Regions from separate parts of the Homo sapiens genome. Here region 1 is linked to region 2. The links are contacts of gene promoters, found by promoter capture Hi-C in human tissues and cell types (Jung and others, 2019). All regions are on one chromosome and are shown on one strand. Each heading gives the region's core, a stretch centred on a gene start or on the middle of the fragment in contact. The rest is flanking DNA. Distances are from core to core; before and after follow the strand shown. Region 1 overlaps GLI3 (GLI family zinc finger 3). Region 2 holds the start of GLI3 (GLI family zinc finger 3).

Region 1 (5,686 bases), core at 1,375-3,874, 130 kb after region 2:
GGCAGTAAGAAATGGAAAAAATATCCGCCCTCCCCACCGCCCCCTCCCCTCCAAAAAAATACTGTGGGGCAGATACCAACATAGGGATACCAGATATTTGTCCAAATATGGGCATGGCAGGGCTGGGGTAAGTTGGGACACTGGAAAATAGCAAACAATTCCCAGAGCATTCTCTGCTGTCATTACCATTTCACAACACAAAGGCTGTTTTCACACCACGAAGTAGGAAGAACAGATTATTGAGCAGAGGACATTCTTTGAAAATGAGTAACTTTAGCTGTGTGAAACATTCATCACTTCAATCCTTCTTGTTCTCATTTTGTGTCTATTTATTCCATATAATTATAGATTTCCAACCAGTATGTAGAGGCCACTGCTGCAAATGATTCTAAAAGAAGGAGCTCTTCTGTCCAGCAGCAAAACAAATACAGAGCCCACCAGGGAGGCCCACCTTACCTGGGCAGGAAGCTACCAGATGCCTTGGCAGGAGCCCGTCCTTGCTCATGTGGCCATAAGATCTGTTGTGACTAGGGTTCCTATTGCAGCTGGAGGGACACAGAGATTAGGAGCACCTTGCAGCCTAGATTTCTGCAGGAGCAAGAGGGGTGGGCATTGGACCCTGAGGCCTTAGGCTGGGGACAGCACAGTTCTGAGGGCCAGGTGCTGAGTGGGTGTCTGTGAGCATGCTCAGCCTCTGGGCTGTGCTCTCAGAGGACGTGCAGATATCAGACATTTACAGTGAGCAGCATGGAAACTGCGGGCTGCATGAGGATGCCTGTTGGACGGTGAGGCCAGGCTGCCCAATTACGGAACATGCTGGAACTGCTGGGGAGATGGAGGCCAGAAAACACATGCTTCTTCCTGCTTGCCCGGCTGCTCCACCCCTGCCTCTTTTGGCTTTTATACTTTCCAGCCTGCTTGGCCAAAAACCAAATGCAAAAAGGATGAGAGAAACCTTTAGGGGCTAAAAGGAAGGTTCATCATTGAGGTATGTACTGAGAAATTTGATTTCCTGGTGGGGTGTCTGGGCCCCTTGGATAAGCGGATGTACCTCGGGCGTGACCTCACACCCCGCTCATTAAAATCAGTCTTATGTGACTGCAGACGTGGAGGTGCTTGTTTACGAGAGACAGAGCTGCCTCTTTGCTTGAGGAAAATTGATTTCCATTCAACAGATGTGTATGGAGAGCTGGTTCCCCCGAGGCTAGCACTGGACACACACAGTCTATTAAGGCCCAGCCCTAAGTGGGAGGATTCACACCTTGCAGATTCTGCTGTTTGCTTGATGAAGTGGAACTAAAGAATGCTGTTTTTAAATTCAGATGTACATTTCCTGAAAAGATTTTCTATCATCTGTGATTAACTTAAGTACATATTATCTTCTTTTTAAATCTTTCCCTGATTTTCTTTCTCCTTCCCCACGGCGTCATCCTATCTCCCCATCTCTCATTTTCCTCTTACTTCCTTTCGCTTCTCGCTTTTCTCTCTATGCCAGTGCATTTTCTTTTTCATGGAGTTTTGCTTTTATTTAGAGTAATTTTTATAAATATTTGAAACTAAATTTATGCTTCTCAGAAACAAGATTCTTTCTGAAAACATACTTTGGGTGATAAAGATGTAATCTGCTTCCAAATCTTTCCAAATCTGGGTGTAAATTATGAAACAGAAAAAAAAAGAAGCAGCCATTTAGTACCTGATTATCAGTCCACATCAAGCCAAGTTCAGTGTGCCTTCCTGAATTTGCCCACTTGAATTCAGGGCACACAGTAGCAGGCACATGTCAGACCAGGAGTTAGAAACACACGGCTTCAGGACTGGCCATGAAGGACCCAGGGCAGATTATTTATTCTGTTTGAACCCCAGTTTCCTCACCTGTAAAATGAAGGCAATTTCACAGTGTTTCTTTGGATAAATTCAGATAATAATTATCAAAGTTCCTGGCAGTATCACAGTCTTAATCTGTTCAGGCTGCTGTAACAAAATACCATAAATGGAGTGGCCTATAAACAGTAGAAATTTATTTCTCACAGTTCTGGAGACTGAGAAGTCTCAGATCAAGGTGCCAGCAGATTTGTTGTCTGATGAGGACCTGTCTTCTGGTTCATAGATGGCCTTCTTCTCACTGTGTCCTCACGTGGTGGAACGGCCAATAGGTTCTCTGGGGCCTCTTTAAAAGGAACCCCATTCATAAGGGCTCCACCCTTATGAACACCTCCCAGTTGCCATACTGCCAAATACCATTACATTGGGGATTAGAGTTCAATATGTGAATTTTAGAAGAATATATTCAGTCTATAGCAATGTTGTAACTTTAAATGTTTCCCTGAATCAATCCATCTTTAAACCTTTTTTAAGCCAAGAGTTTGAATCTCAGAAATGTGTGTTTATTAAATGATGATTTCATAATCTCACACCCATTACACATAGTAATCTCAGGAGTGGTTCATTGATTCAGTAAATATTTGGAAATGCCTACTTTATGCCAGATTCCTTGCTGTGTTTATGGGATTCAAAGATTAGTAAGACATTTTTCCCGCCCTGCCTGTTTACCCACTGTAGAGATGGGAAGTGGGAAATGCTAGAGCGGATGTGTGAACAAGGCTGGAGGGTGCAGATGTCAGGGCGTCTTCACAGGAGACTGAACTGGGTACTGAAGGATGTTGGGTACGCAGTATGTCTAGGTAGGTTTTACGTGATGCATTATCTTCTTTTCTGACAACATCTTTAATTTAGACTAATGTTGACTTTTGGAGAAGTGAAGTTCAGGATTTTACTGAAGATGATAGATTCCTAACTACTGGCCTAACTGTCTGGCACCATTTTATTTTTCAATGCTTTCATCTTCTTCAAGTGGAGACCGTAAGTATGCTCATATACTTGTACAGGGCACCAAACAAAGCACATCGTCCTCAGAGATACAGTGAACAGTCAAGGAAAGAGATGCACAGTGAATACTAGAAAGTCAGCTGGCCCCTCACGTGACACCCACATGCCTAACATCATCATCAGCACCATCATTACTATTGTTCTCACTTCTTTTATTAACTCTGTTATTATTTATGGTTCATGGTAATGCATTATCAGATTGTAGCACTTTTATTTCTACCTTTTCCTCTTTTCTGAGTCTCTTCACATGCCAATCTACATCTGAAGCTTGAGAGACAGATTTAGGGCCCCATCCTGACTCCTTATCTTGGGTTATCTTGGGTGCTCTTGGATAGGTGATTTAGTGTCTTTATGCCTCAGTGTTCGCAGCTGAGAAATGAGGATTCAGATATCTACGTCACTGGAATGTGAAAAGGACTGGGTGAGGTCATGTGTGTTAAGCATAGCACTTGGCCAAAGTGTAATAGCTGAAGAAATAGTTGCAGAGAGGTTCCCTAAGTATCTTGGAGAATCAGTTATCTTGGTTCCCCAATTACATAGTGAGCTGCTTTCAGAACTTGAATCAAAGCCACAGTCTTTTGCCTCCTAGTCCTGCTTTTTTTTTTAATAAGATACATTTGATCTTTGAATCATGTCACTGTATAAATCGGAGATTGGATAAAAAGTTCAGCTATTTATGGCACTGTGGGGGGTTTAAGGACATGTGTACAAGTTTTTGATACTCCTGCCCTCAGGAGGTGGGACTTCCTTCCTCTTTCCTTAATGACTTACTTCCAGTGAAGTGATGGGATGGCACTTCTAAAATTAGATTACAAAAGGACTGTGACTCAGGTGGCTCTCTTGCCCTCCCTCTTGAATCCCTCACTCTGGGGTGGACAGTGGCCATGCCATGAGGACACTCAGCTGGTGGAGAGGCTGTATGGGGAGGAGCCAAGTCTGGAAACATACTCTCCCCCAGTCAGGCCTTGAGGTGACTGCAGCCTCCTGAGAGACCCTCAGCCGGAGCCACTCAGCTAAGCCGCTTCCGGATTCTCTACCCTCCAAAAGTGTGAGTTAGTACATGTTCACTATTTTCACCTGCTACATGGAAGGTCAATTGTGATTAACTCAGCATCTATCTGCAGAATGGAGTTCAAAGCGTCTTAAGCTTTGAGTTTGCTGTATGTTATAATATGCCACAATTAGGCATTTCTGCGCCAGTGTGACCGGCGAACTGAGATGGCACTCCCATATCCTTGTATTCAGGGGGTTGTTAAAGACAAAAGTTTCAAATGACCCTGCTTGACTTAGGGACAAGCCGGAGCAGGATTGCTGTTCACCTGCAGTTCAGCTCACCATGTCTGAGCCTTAGATAATTTACGTCTTATAGCAGAAACATTTAGAATCATAAATGTTCTAATCCTAGGCATGGGAAGAGATTTGGTGTAACTTGCCTGGTGAGGCACTGAAGCCCAAGAAGTTAAGTGCACACCCAGCCTGTACAGCTGCTCGGTGGCTGGGCTGTTGAGGTTTTCCTCCTGCATCAGCCAGGGCTATTGGGTTACATGCAACAGAAACTGATTCCAACCCTTGCACCAACAGGAATTGCTGGGATGACATAGAATTGTCTTAAAATTGTCAGAAAATCTCGAGAAGCAGGTGCTGTAGAGGCATAGGAAGCAGGCGTGAGAGTCTCCCTGGGGGAATGAGCTCTGACTGCTTCTCCTTCCCCCAACTCAGGCTCAGGACTCAGGCTTTCAGCAGAGGCCGTCTGCTATCAGAGCCAGGTACCCTGGCTGTCTTGGGCAGTGAGGCTCATGGATTTTTTAAAAAAATGATTCCTCAGGGATCTAGAACTAGAAATACCATTTGACCCAGCCATCCCATTACTGGGTATATACCCAAAGGACTATAAATCATGCTGCTATAAAGACACATGCACACGTATGTTTACAGCGGCATTATTCACAATAGCAAAGACTTGGAACCAACCCAAATGTCCAACAATGATAGACTGGATTAAGAAAATGTGGCACATATACACCATGGTATACTATGCAGCCATAAAAAATGATGAGTTCATGTCCTTTGTAGGGACATGGATGAAATTGGAAACCATCATTCTCAGTAAACTATTGCAAGAACAAAAAACCAAACACCGCATATTCTCACTCATAGGTGGGAATTGAACAATGAGATCACATGGACACAGGAAGGGGAACATCACACTCTGGGGACTGTTGTGGGGTGGGAGAGGGTGGAGGGATAGCATTGGGAGATATACCTAATGCTAGATGACGAGTTAGTGGGTGCAGCACACCAGCATGGTACATGTATATGTATGTAACTAACCTGCACAATGTGCACATGTACCCTAAAACTTAAAGTATAATAATAATAAAATAAATAAATAAATAAATAAAAAGATACTAGCAAACGAAATTCAGCAGCATATTAAAGCAATTATACATTTAAAAAAAAAAATTGAGACAGAGTCTTGCTTTGTCGCCCAAGCTGGACTGCAGTGGTGCCAACATGGCTCACTGCAGCCTCCACCTCCCGGGCTCAAGCAATCCTACTGCCTCAGCCTCATGAGTAGCTGGAACCAGAGGTGTATGCCACCATACCTGGCTAATTTAAAGAAAAAAAAAATTGTAGAGACCAGGTCTTGACGTGTTGTCCAGGGTGGTCTCGAACTCTTGGACTCAAGCAGTTCTCCCACCTCAGCCTCCCAAAGTGCTGGGATTACAGGCGGGAGCCACCACGCCAGTCCTGGATTTTTTATTTATCACCCCAGAATGCCTAAATACAGTAGGAGAGA
Region 2 (5,565 bases), core at 2,332-4,831:
GGAGTTGAATTATGTCCCCCAGAAGAAAATGTTGAAGTTCTAACCCTAGGAACCTCAGAATATGATCTTGGAAACAGGCTTGTTGCAGATGTAATTAGTTAAGATGAGGTCATTCTGGAGTAGGGTGGGTCTCTAACAGAATATAACTCGTGCTTTTATAAGAAGAGAAGCCAGAGACAAAGGGAGAATGCCATATGAGGACAGAGGTGGAGACTGAAAGGGAGAAGCTGCAAGCCACGGGACACCCAGATTGACAGCCACCACCAGAAGCCAGTAAGAGGCAAGGGAGAAATTTCTTTTCCAGGTTTCAGAGGGAGTGTGGCCCTGCAAGACACCTTACTTTTGGACTTCAAGCCTCTAGAAACTATAGGACAATACATGTCTGTCCTTTAAGCCATCCAGTTTTTGGTACTTTGTTACCATGGCCCTAGAAAACAAATGCAAGTATCTTCAAGTATCTCCTACTTCACTGTTGCAACAACAAGAAAGAAAGTCTGTCTTAAAAGCTTAACTATTCTGAGGACTTACTATATTAAAATTTCTTAAGATATCTGCATTTGAAAAGAGAACTGATGAGAGATGGCAATAAGTCAATCTATGATAGAATTTCAGACATCAAGGAAGGGCAGTGCACAGAATCCTGTAAGTCTCTTAGTGCTGTGTATCACTACAAACAAAGGTTGTAGCATTGTCTTTCTGGGTGTCTTTGGGTTTTTACAGATGTCTCAGGAGCAACTGCAGGAAAGGGAAAGAGAGAAAGGCTTAGGGGGATTGGGCTCCGAGACCTCACTCCAATTTCAACCATAATAACTCTTCTATATTTTGGGATTCTACGTAAGATTTAATTTGGAAAGCGTTCTGGTGTTAACACAGAGAGAAAGTCACTGCATTATGACATTATTTAACCCACACTCAGGCAAAGTGGGTTTTTTACCCCTCCACTGTTTCTGCAAAATGTGCCTACTTATATGTATGGGTTTACCATTAAAGCAGAGTTGGACACATAAGAGACACAGCATTATTCTTCCTCTTTTTTGTTTAGCTATTGTGACGGGCATAGGGGGAAAGATTAGCTGCTTTTGCTTTGTTCTTGTCTTTTAAGAACTGAAAAATCAAGATCTTCATGATTCAAAATGTGCTATAAGACTGAAGTAAGAGTCGAAATATCTAGTTTATTCTATTATTTGATGATTTATTGGCTGTCTTTCTTTGTATTTATTTTTTGCCATTGGGTGAACAGAGTAGGCTATCAGGATGTACTATTTGTATTCATGTGATTGAGGCAGAAGCAGTACATGAATACTAAAAACAATTGTAACTGATGCTGGGAGTATATAAAGGAAAGAGTGGCTTGCAATTCTCTTCAATTGTAAAAGCATAATTCTTACACACTTGTAGCCCTCTATACTTTTCCATGTATTTCTCATTGGAAACCCTCAGCCATCCTGGGAGGTACGCGACCTGGCACTCCTAACACTATCCCCTAGATGGGCTCAGAGCCTATGGAGGCTCAGAGAATCCTCCCAGGCCTGAGGCCAGTTAGTGAGCGCGGAGATGGGGCTGCCACAGGGCTTCTGAGTCTCGTGCTCTCTGCGATGAGTCAGTGGTGTTTTGTTTTTTCCTGAGCCGTGAGGTCGAGGGAAATCTTAAAACAAATGGCTAACTAGGGCCTTTAGCCCCACCTTACCTCCACCACTTCCACCATAAAACCTTAAGTCTGTCTCTGCACTTGTCATGTCATTGTGACAAGGAAGGAGTCCCAAGAAACAAACAATGAATACCACCCTCAATTTCGTTAAAAGATTCTTCAGTTAAGCATTTGAATCTCAAAATGCTCTTCAAATTCTAATAGCTCATCATTCATCCACCCACACTCTTCCTTCAGTCAAGACACTTGGCGGCAACGCCACACAAGCAACCCGGAGCTCCGGGGCACTTCTGGCTGGGTGGACCCGGCTTAACCAGAAAGAGGGGATGTTGGAATGTCACAGGGGCTTTCTTTTCTTTCTTTTTCTTCCTGTGTTTCCCCCCGAGAACTCCTTTTTTAAGTTACATGTCCAGGTTGGATATATTAAAATGACGCAGATGAACAAGGACTGGATGGTCGAGGAAGGAGGCCAAATAACTTTTACTAGCATGGGCCTCTGAAAATGAAGCAGGGACAGAGACACTTTGTAGCTCAAGGAAAAGCGGCACGTTAGAGACCAGGCTCCAAGCCTGGGGTCTTTGTTTTTGTGTCTTTTATAAAGTGGCCCATAGGGACAGCAGGCTGTGTGGTGGGAGCTCCTCCTCGCTTCGCGGATTTGGCCCCGAGGGCAGACGAGTCCGGTGGAGAGAAAAACCCTGAACTTCCAAAGGCATCATCCCGCGAGAGGGAGTTTCGGGGATGGCTTTGGGAAAATGTAAAACAAGGAGATGGGGAGCCAAGGATGGGGGGCGGTGGTAATCAGAGAAGCCTTAAAAGAATAAAGGGGAGTCCAGCCCTTGAGCAAGAGTGAGAAAGAGAGGCTGGGTGGGAGAAGATGGGAGCAGACAGGACGCAGCACGAGTGCCAGGGCGCGCATTTGGGGGGTGTCCTGGCGGTGTGGAGAGAGAAGAGAGAGGGCGCGGGTGACATCACGCCCGGGCCCCCTTCCCCTCGCCGGGTGGGTGGGGCTTCGGCGCGCCGGGAGGGCGCGGGGTCAAGTAGGGGGAAGAGGAGGAGCAGGCATGAATGTGTCTGTGTGAAGACCGGGGAGGGGCGGAGGAGGAGGAGGAGGAGGAGAAGGAGGAGGAGGAGGAGGAGGCGGCGGCGGCGGCGGCGGCGGCGGCGGAGGGCGGGGAGGGAGCGCGCGCGTGGCTCGCGGCGCCCGGGCTCCCCCCCAGCCCCCGACCCCGGCCCGCGACGCGCCGCCTCCCAGCCGCCGCCGCCCGCCTCGCAGCTGGGACCCACTCCGGGCTTGGGGACCCGGCGGGCGGGAGAAGCGGGGGCTCCCGGCGCGGCCTGGAAGGAGCGAGAAAGCAAAAGTAAGGCGAGCAGCACTCCAAGTTTTCCCAACTTCGCCCCCTGCGGCGGCAGGCGTCCTGCTGCTCAGCGCGTCCCCTCCGAGCCCGAGAGTGGCTGAAAGAAAAGGGACTGGGCGGGGGCCGGGGCGGAGGAAGAGAGAGTGCGAGGGAGCGAGGAGAGTCCGGCAACATCTGTTAAAACTTGGGGGAGGAGGAGCGCGGGGAGGAGGAGGAAGAGGAGGAGAGAAGGGAAGGAGGGAGCGCGCGGGAGGGGAGCGCGGAGCCGAGGGACAACTTTTCCACCCCGTGAGTAGTGCAGGCGGTGCCAGGTCGGGGCGGGGGGCTTCTCCACCCAGCACGGGGCACCAGGCCGGGATGGGACCTTTTTCCAGAAAGTCGATTGGATGCCAGGAGAGGCGTACGGCTGGGGGTTTCTTTCTTTCTCTTTCCCCTCCCTCCCGCGGTTGAACCAAATCAGAACTGTCACTCAGGGCTTGTGAGTCAGAAGGGATCGGATTACACGATCCCCGAAACTGATGCCGGAGCTGCACGAGCGGGAGGGAGCGGGCAGGGGCAGCGCCACCGGCGCGCTCGCACACTCGCACTCGCGCACACCCGCCGCTCCCACTCACCCGCGCCGCTCTCCCGCCTTCCCCGCGCGCCCCGCGGCCGCCCGCGCCGCACCATGCCCGCGGCGGGCGCACCCCGCGCCCAGCCCGGCCGCTCGCGGTAGCCGTAGCCGCCCGCGGCCGCGCGGAGCGGGGAGCCGCCAGCCTGCGCCCCGTCCGCGGGTCTATGGGAAGTTCGGGGACTTGACAGCCGCTGCCGCCGCAGGTACGTCCCGCTCGAAGTTCTTTGTTTCGCGGACCCCGCAGCCCGCTCCTGCGGCCGCGCCCGCGCCTCCGGGGCCAGAGGTGGTCCCCAGCGTGGGGACGGGATGGAGTGAAAATGGCTGTCAAAAGGCGCCCAGATTTAGAGAGCCGCCGGTGAGGCGTCCGAGCAAGGCTTGCATTCGCTCCCTCCTCCTGGAAGGTCCTTTCCGAAGAGTCCGACCCGCGGACCGGCCGGAGACGGATTGGAGAATTTCACCTCCCGGAGGGGGGACGAAGTTTGCCGCAGTGGTGGCGGCGCCCCTCGCCTCCGCCCCCATCCAAAGGGTTCAGAAGAACTCCGCGAGCCCCGCACGCGCCTGGCTCCTTCCTTTGCGCGGTGGCGCTCTACGGCTCGGGCTTCGGGCGCGCACGGCGCTCGGGATGGGCGGAAGGAGGCGGGAGGCATGGTGGGTGCGCGCGGGGACCTCCGCCGCGGGGGCCGCCGCCGCTGGGGCTTCTCCAGCCCGGGCTATGCTTCGGAGGGCGGGGGTGTGGTGTGAGCGGATGGAGAGAGGCGCGCCTTCGTCGTCATAGAGGAAAAGTGAAAGTTGTACCATCTGTATATGATTTGGGATTCTCTTATTTCTTTTCCTTTCCAGGGGCAGCGCGCACAGACACACAAAGTAACCGTGGTCCATGCAATAATCATTTAAGGTGCCGCGTTTACACAGAGCAGCAGGGGACAGTTACTTTCTTGAGTAGCAGCGGGAAAACGGGCGGGAGAAGGCAGAGAGGGTGTAAATATTGATCCCAAACTTGCAGAGTTTGTGAAGCGACTTTTAAGCAGATTGTCCGAAGCGGACGCTCCACCCCGCACCCGGCCTTTTATCCTTTCCTGAACTTTGTGCTCCTGTCCCCCATTGCACCTCCTTCTGTAAGATGCCGTCCCCCGAGAGGCGCTGCACCCCAGGCTTCCCTGCCTGACCCCGCGTGGAAAGAGGATTAAGGAGGCTCCCTCCGCCGCTGGTCATCCTGCCCCAACTTCTCATCTCCCCAGTGCAGACTGCCGGGTAGATTCTGGCCTTGGGTACAGTGCTCATGGCCCTCTGCCAGTTTATATGTACATATATTTATGTAAAACATTTTCTCCCAGCTCTTTGCCAGCTGTTCCACATTTTCCAGCTGCCACTTCAGTTTGAAATGATGGACTGTCTGCGTCTCCAAGTCAAAGAACCCTTTAGTCAAAGGTATGGAGGGCCGGCCGCTGTGCAAATACATGGCAGTGCCATTAGCCGGGCTGGTATTATTAGTTCTAAAAAATACCTCCTGCTCCCCTTTTCCTCTCCTCCCTCTTCTCTCCAGTTAGGCTTTCCAGAGCACAGTATATACACTTTGCTGAAAATTCGAGTAATTAGGCCTTTCCCTCTTAAATGTGATTTTTGTACAGAATTTGGATGAGGCCGTTTTTTTAGATCCCTGAAATATGTGTCTGGTGGAAATAAATTAACTTTTAAAAATAAAAGAGTTTCAGCTTGAGCGCATTGGGCATGGCGGGTGGGGGGCCTGCACCCTGGCCGTCTGAAATGAGCTCTTTTCAGTCTATTTAAGGCAGGAACCATTCATCCTCCCCATGCTACACTTTTTGTGTTGTTTGATGTCTTAGCATATTATAGACCGAAATCTACAAGAATTGACCTAAAGTATTAATTTTGAGTATTTATGTAATTGCTCGGTAATTTTGAATAGGTGCCTTATTGATTGATTCCTG

The links. Contacts are between HindIII fragments. The study calls those that stand out against the background at their distance.
Region 1: a fragment that was not itself captured here is called in contact with the fragment with the promoter of GLI3 in region 2 in 1 of the 25 tissues and cell types used here (H1 embryonic stem cells).

Annotation. Positions count from the first base shown.
Region 1 is chr7:42,101,271-42,106,956 of GRCh38, reverse strand. All of the region lies in intron 3 of GLI3 (GLI family zinc finger 3), which reads left to right. Among named protein-coding and RNA genes, the nearest start is that of GLI3, 130 kb to the left of the region's middle. The HindIII fragment of the contact is 6,829 bases long and covers 1-5,686 here.
Region 2 is chr7:42,235,225-42,240,789 of GRCh38, reverse strand. GLI3 (GLI family zinc finger 3) reads left to right here and starts at 3,581. Exons shown (of 15, transcript NM_000168.6): 1 at 3,581-3,819. RefSeq lists an enhancer at 2,856-3,837. The HindIII fragment of the contact is 7,383 bases long and covers 1-5,565 here.